Linked DNA regions of Homo sapiens: region 2 is linked to region 1. The links are contacts of gene promoters, found by promoter capture Hi-C in human tissues and cell types (Jung and others, 2019). All regions are on one chromosome and are shown on one strand. The core of a region is centred on a gene start or on the middle of the fragment in contact, and the rest is flanking DNA. Distances in the headings are between cores, read along the strand shown.

Region 1 (3,905 bases), core at 93-2,592:
CTATTATTCCTAACCTATTATAACTGTTTGCAGAGAGAAAATAATTGAATTTTTCTAATAATCTGTAAAATTATGCTAACTTCTACAAGTAGGCTTCTAAATAAAAATTTTAAAAAGAGCAAAAAAAAAAAAAAAGAAAGAAAAAACAGCTTTGCTTGGTCAGCACTTTGAGAGGCTGAGGCAGGTGGCTCATCTCAGGTCAGGAGTTCGATACCAGACTGGGCAACATGGTGAAACCCCTTCTCCACTAAAAATTAGCTGGGTGTTGTGGCAGGCACCTGTAATTCCAGCTACTGGGGAGGCTGAGGCAGGTGAATCGCTTGAACCGGGAAGGCAGAGGTTGCAGTGAGCCGAGATAGCACCACTGCGCTCCAGCCTGGGTGACAGAGTGAGCTCCCGTCTCAAAACAAACAAACAAACAAACAAACAAACAAACCCCCGCACACACACACAATCCCCCCCTCCAGAAAAAGCAGCTTTGCTTAAATGTAACATTTTCAAGATTCAAGAACACATTCATTCTCTCTCTCTTTTTTTTTTTTTTTGAGAGGCAGTCTCGCCCTGTCCCGGGTTCAAGTGATTCTCCTGCCTCAGCCTCCTGAGTAGCTGGGATTACAGGCATCTGCCACCACGCCTGGCTAATTTTTGTATTTTTAGTAGAGACGGGATTTCACCAGGCCAGGCTGGTCTCACATTCTTAACTATTATACCATTTCAATTGGTAATCTTACCGTTCAACTACTATAATACAAATAATTTTTTTAAACTTCTAATTTTTGGAGGACCCTTATAACTGATTTCTAATACCTAAAAATAATAAAAAGCCCAAATGTCCACTCCTGGGTGAACTGCTGGGCACTATTGTATGTTAATAAACTAGGATATTATATTTTTATTAGTAGTAACAATTATTAAGATTGAGAGTCTTAAGAAAGGCTATTGGAAATAATAGGTAAAAATGTAGAACTCAGAATATGAGAAATAGAATGTAAATGATATAATTGTGTAAAAAATGCCTAGTTTAGAATACTGAAGTTTGTTTTGTTTCATTTTATTTAACTTTTAAAACTTAGATCTTTTGTTTAATTTTTATTTTTTGGATGGTTAAGTACATGAAAGAAGAAAAACTTGGTTAATTTTGCCTGATTATTTTAAACATTGGAAGCAAAATACAAGATTTGTATTTCATACTACAGGACCGCTTCCATCATCCATCTGGAGAGACAGAGAGAGAGAGGGAGAGAGAGAGAGAAGCGCGGCGGTGATAAGTCTCCCAGTGTGAGAGAAATCGGGGAGGGGCGAAGAAGGGTAGGCCTCTTCTGTTCCATTGATACCACGTTCATTCACAGGGAGCCGGCTAAAACAGACTACTCCCCCGTGCAGTCGTTCCCTCTACCCTAATAAGGCTTTGGCGCCTCTCCCAGAACTCGGTAAGTTCAAAGTGTAGTAAAGTGCATGTTTCCAAGGAATCATCTGAAATGATTTTGTAGATAGTTTATTGCAGGTTGGAGAAGGGAGAAAATGAAGGAAGGGGTAGAGGGGGCAATTATCACGCATCGTTTTGCTATCGTATTTGCAAGGGGAAGAAAATCTCAATGCATACATGGTTCGAAAGTGATTATTTAGACAGTAAGCAGTTTCCCCAGGAAAGCTCCTCAGAGGGTCTCCTCGCAGGCTGCAGATTCTAGAAAGTCTGCGGAAGAGTAGTTCGCAGGTGCATGTGTCTGGGCGAAGCGCTGCGTGTGGCTCAGTTGGTGGCAGTCTCTGCCTCTGTCCGCAGGTCCTGGGGAATGCTCTTTGCCTGGTCCAGCCCCGACAAACGTGGTCTGAGAACAGCGGAGCGCGGAAACCGCGGAGCATGACTCCTCCGAAGCTGCGAGCGTCGCTGTCGCCGTCGCTGCTGCTGCTGCTGAGTGGTTGCCTCCTCGCGGCTGCTCGGAGGGAGAAAGGGGCGGCTAGCAACGTGGCGGAGCCGGTCCCCGGGCCCACTGGCGGCTCCTCGGGTCGCTTCCTCAGCCCCGAGCAGCACGCGTGCAGCTGGCAGCTCCTGCTGCCCGCCCCGGAGGCCGCAGCGGGCAGCGAGCTGGCGCTGCGCTGCCAGAGCCCGGACGGGGCGCGCCACCAGTGCGCCTACCGCGGGCATCCGGAGCGCTGCGCAGCCTACGCCGCTCGCCGCGCGCACTTCTGGAAGCAGGTGCTGGGAGGGCTGCGCAAGAAGCGGAGGCCCTGTCACGACCCCGCGCCGCTCCAGGCCCGCTTGTGCGCGGGCAAGAAGGGCCACGGCGCCGAGCTGCGGCTAGTGCCCCGCGCGTCCCCGCCCGCACGCCCCACCGTCGCGGGATTCGCGGGGGAGTCCAAGCCCCGGGCCCGGAACCGGGGGCGGACCCGGGAGCGTGCGTCCGGCCCAGCCGCTGGGACCCCGCCTCCCCAAAGCGCACCGCCCAAAGAAAACCCCTCAGAGAGGAAGACCAACGAGGGCAAGAGGAAGGCGGCCTTGGTCCCCAACGAGGAGCGACCCATGGGGACCGGGCCCGACCCCGACGGGCTGGACGGGAACGCGGAGCTCACGGAGACCTACTGCGCTGAGAAGTGGCACTCCCTCTGCAACTTCTTTGTCAATTTCTGGAACGGCTGAGACTGCCTGCCGGCTTAGGGAGGGTTGATGGGGGAGGCGTGGGGAAGGGAAAGCTAAGGGCGTCTTAGACCGGGGGGTACTGTGATAGAGATTGGGGAGAAGTCCAGGTTCTCGAATGGGGGTGGGGGCAAGGGTAAGGGTGAGATGCTTGGGATGAGAGTGTAAGGGGTATGGAGAATCTCTGGGATAGCAGAGAAGTTAAAAATTTTGAAAAGTCTCAGTCCTGATTAAGAGCAGGAAAAATAATGGAAACAGAAATAGGCGTACTTTAAATGTGCAAAAACTGGAGACTGGGGAGAGAAATCGATGCAGAGGGAGGCTGAGAATAAGGGGGAGATAGAGTGACTAAAGTGATGTGAGTCCCATGTGGGGAGGGGGATGCAATGTTTATTGTTTAACATTTCTATTAAATGCAGCCATGAGCAATTGCCAACCTGAGCCAGGTTGAATCAATGTCTTCTCACTTAATCAGCTAACAAGACTGCAGACTTTTTTTCCGTTTCTGAATTGGTATAAACTTGGATGCGGCGTGGTGGGTGTCATAGATAACCTCTATAGGGACAGAAGCCTCACAGGTCAAAACTGGCTCCAAGGAAAGTTTTGCAGAATGATTTCCTTTCCATTCTTTTAGAAGAGCTACCTTTTTTTTTTTTTTTCCCTGACAGGGTCTGGCTTGCCCAGGCTGGAGTGCGGTGGCTAGTCACAGGTGTAATAATAGGCACTGCAGTCTCCAACTCCTGGCCTCAAGGGATCCTCACATCTTAGCCTCCAGAATAGCTAGGAGTAGGAGTAGCTGGGACTACAAGCATGCACAGCTGCACTTGGCTTAGAAGTGCTACTTTATTTTTATTTTTGAGACAGGGTCTTGTGTCATCCAGACTGGAGCAGTGGTGCAATTATGGCTCACTGCGGCCTCGACATTCCAGTCTCAAGTGATCCTCTGCCTCAGCCTCCGGAGTAGCCAGGACTACAGGGGTGTGCCACTAGAAGTGCTACTTTTTAACGAAATGGTGACTAATGTTCTGGAACTTTCCCATTAACCTTCTGCATTTAGAAGGAATTATAGATGTTGAGTGCTCCAGTAAACAGTGATTCTCTTTATATCTGATTTTTTTTTTTAAACAGCTAAAATGTAAGTATGTATCTCAGAGTCATTTTGACCATTATGGAAGTTGTATCTCTCTGTTTCATGTAACTAATTATTAATATATTTCATTTTTAGTGTGATGTAATGAGAGACTGTGTGTGTATGTTAGGTGCTCAATAAAAA
Region 2 (3,560 bases), core at 865-3,364, 410 kb after region 1:
GTTAAAGCACATGAGTTTAATAGGATAAAATAAGCTAGTAATGAAGATAAAAAGTAACTTTACCAAGGTAGAGGCAGTGGAAAAGCAAAGAACAGATTCCAGCTTTAAAATGAAAGGAAGAACTAAGAGCACTTAGGGAATGTTCAATGTATGGGGCAGGAGACAAAAATGATTATAATCAAAGTTATGTCTATTCAAGTTAGCTTTAGAAATTATAAGTTATTTGGGAAAAGGAGTAAGTTGATAAGCATTAATGCATTAACACTGCTAGAAAATAATTTAAATCCATCATCACCATCACTTCATATACAAAAAGCATGAGATTAAAAAAAAAAAGAGGATTAGTATTAGAGGTACTTCTGGTAATAATTATAGTATCCCCCAACCCCCTAGAAAAGAAAGAAAACTCCACAAACAAACCAGATATCCCAACTTAATGATTTTCCTAAAAATAAAAAACACATTTCACATTTAAATAAAAATGAACATTAGACAATCTACTACTACAAAGTAACTAGGTTCTAAAAGAGTCTACAAAGCACTTATATGACCTAGCAAAGTAAAAAGTTGTTAGAAATGAATTATTAGTTAGTATGTCTCAAAAACTAGTAAGAGAACTTTTAATCAAAATCTCTTACATTTCAAGGCCATGTTTACTCTGAAGATTTTTCTATGAAAATAACTTCAAACGGAGTACACATCCTGATTCCAAATGTATTATCATTAGCAGTATTAGCAGTAACCTTTAGATTTAAAATAAAATTAGATCCAGAAATTTACCAGTTAGTAGAAGTTTCATTCTTTGAGATTTTAAAGTTCAAATCAGCCATCCCTCCTACAGGTACTCTGTCACTCCCTGTAGTAAAATGTAGCAACTTCTTTTGAAGATCAAGAGGAAATCCAAGCACAACATCCCAAAAGTATCTAGAGAATACCAAAGGAAATTAACATCAAATGTCTTGACAAAAATCCTATAATAAAGTAATATAAAGGAAGCTCTAAGGAAAGGACTTTCCTTAAGCATACATAATATCCTGAATTTCTGTAAAATTAAGGAATGGTGAGCTTCTATATACGTATTAGACTTTTGACTAACATTATAAAATAATATTTTTATAAAAGTATATAAGTTCAGCAGTGGATAGTACAGGAACCATTTTTCTCCTGCATAACTTTCAAGTCTTATTTTTCAACATAGTGCTATTAAACTGTTATTTACAAGGATAGCATCCATGAAATTCTAGGAGCAAAGTCATTTTTTTAAAAGTAAAATCTCTACACTTTTGTAGAAACTTGCTTATAGAATTTTCTCCCAAAGGGAGTGATTTCATATTAAAATTCTCATAGACTTTCCAGAGATAAAATAAGACTGTGGGACTCTCTAATATTTTGACTAACTTAATTGATTCAAAGATTGTAAGTTATGCAAATAAATGAACCACACTGTCTGCTGTTCCCTCTCCACATCCCCCACTATCAGAAGTATAAAGAGCTCACTTTATAGTTAAGTCCGTTTTTGCATAGCCATCATACTGAGTACTTCTCTGCAGAGCATGCATATCCAGGTCAGGACTTCCACAGACCAAAATTTCAACCTCTTCTGGACGAAGCAGCTGCCAATAATTATTTATCAAAAACAATAATTAAAGAGTGATGGTTTTAAGTGAAACTGGAACTATTTTCACTGGATCAAATCACAAAAGTCATGATTTCTCATAGTAAATCAAACCATTTTTGTTGAAGAAAAATCGACTCTGGGTATATTTTTCCTGCCAAGGCAAGATATTTTTGCTTCCGAAGTTTATAGATCTTGTAAATAGTAATTAGCCGTTTGCCAGAAAAACAAGCAAATTACTTTGCACAAATCCAAATTACTCTTCTCCAAAAACCAGCATGAAGCTCCAACATCTACTGATCCACCTAATATCCCGTATCCTAGTATCTCCTTCCAATATCCCATAACACCTCCTGTGTGCACTGTAGAGTTTGGGCACTTGGTTATAGTCTGTCTTGTGTCTCTTGTTTTTTTCAACTTTCAGGTGGGTTAGTCTACCGCCTACAGAGATTAAAGCTCTAAAACACAGAGACCATGCTATGCTATTTAATTCTTATTTTCCCTCTGTCCACTCCCACAATTACCAGAGTGTCATAAACAAAACTTAACTAGAGCTCAATAAAGTGTTTCTCTTTCAAAGGTATTTTCGACAACAAACATATTACAAAGGTTTCTCTAAAACAAGCTGGCAATAATGTAAGCCACTTGGTTTTGCCCCAAAGCAACTTCTATAGTCCATTTCTCTCTCCCATGAAAAATAATTCAAATGAAAGATCTTACTCCAATCCCTCATAATGAAACTAAGGGAGGTATAAATGGCATGATGAAAGTGTGTGCTGGGTAGCTGGGGTGACTGAAAGGTATCCTATGATACTTCTGACATGGTATTCTAAATAGTAGCTGATCCATATTCACATGGCTAAGACAAGTCAGACCAAACTGAGTCCACCATAACTCTAGAGATAAACTACTTGCTAAGGGTAAAAGGCAATGCAGAGTTGCTGAGGGAGCCCTGAGGTAGCAGGAAGCAGCTATACATATGTTCCTTAATCATTAAGAAGTTGTAACTTTTACCCTGGAGCTACATGTTAACTGCGTTGTGTGCCTTGTCCTTCAGTATTAAGATCCTGAGTCCATGGATCCCTTCATCCACTCTACTTGGAGAAAGTTTGTAAAGCTCTAAAAGACTTAGTAGAAGGGGAGAGAAAATGAACTGACTGGGGTGTTTTTCCCCTCTAAAGAATTAAGACTGAAATGAGAGAACTATTTTTGTTTTTAGTTCTACTTTTAAAAAGTAGAAAATATTTTCTATTTTAAAAGCTTATCTACTAAAATATTTATTAATTATTTGTTAACATGATAGTACTACAAAAGCTAACCGAAAGCTTGATTTAAAGTTATAAACTCACCATTAGGGCATTTGAAGCACACACACTATGAAATCCATAATAAAATGCAGCAAACTGCTTATAGATGGATTTGTTCAGAAGGAAGTCAGTATAAAGCTGTACATATTCTGAAAAGCAATTTTACATCTCTTAAATAGTAAAAGTAAATGGCAAATACTAATTCATTTTAATTAAAAAGGGTATTAACTTACCTTTTCTATTTTGATTGGTAACTGAAATTTTATCACCACCGGGCTTTAAATTATAGGACTTGATTATTCCAAATTCTTCTTGAAAAACCTGATGGGAGATGCCATTACACATATTAATATGGTTGATATAATAACATACTTTGGTGAACAGGTTTGTAAAATTTAAAAAACAGTTTTTTTCCCCCTTCCTTCTAAACACATAAACTATAAAAGGCTAAGCTCTTGCAATATTTGTATTAAGAACGAGGGATCATAAAAGAATTATGGAGTTAAAAAATAGTGCCTTAACTTAACCCTGCCTAATACAGTTAAATACTTTAATGAAGTCCACAAAACTGTGTGGACATCTAGATAATACACAGCGGGTCCCTGGAGCTCTGCAGATCACTGTAATGTCCATTTCCC

Evidence for each region. Contacts are between HindIII fragments. The study calls those that stand out against the background at their distance.
Region 2: a fragment that was not itself captured here is called in contact with the fragment with the promoter of FGFBP3 in region 1 in 1 of the 25 tissues and cell types used here (aorta).

What each region holds. Positions count from the first base shown.
Region 1 is chr10:91,906,923-91,910,827 of GRCh38, reverse strand. It overlaps FGFBP3 (fibroblast growth factor binding protein 3), which reads left to right and starts at 1,342. Exons shown (of 2, transcript NM_152429.5): 1 at 1,342-1,430; 2 at 1,781-3,905. The coding sequence starts at 1,859. The coding sequence ends at 2,635. It overlaps FGFBP3-AS1 (FGFBP3 antisense RNA 1), which reads right to left and starts at 2,699. Exons shown (of 2, transcript NR_199602.1): 1 at 2,579-2,699; 2 at 1,480-1,931. RefSeq lists an enhancer at 1,702-1,996 and a silencer at 1,900-2,469. The HindIII fragment of the contact is 15,807 bases long and covers 1-3,905 here.
Region 2 is chr10:91,498,555-91,502,114 of GRCh38, reverse strand. It overlaps HECTD2 (HECT domain E3 ubiquitin protein ligase 2), which reads right to left. Exons shown (of 21, transcript NM_182765.6): 17 at 3,156-3,243; 18 at 2,965-3,071; 19 at 1,498-1,613; 20 at 781-924. All of the region lies in intron 3 of HECTD2-AS1 (HECTD2 antisense RNA 1), which reads left to right. Among named protein-coding and RNA genes, the nearest start is that of HECTD2, 90 kb to the right of the region's middle. The HindIII fragment of the contact is 4,262 bases long and covers 1-3,560 here.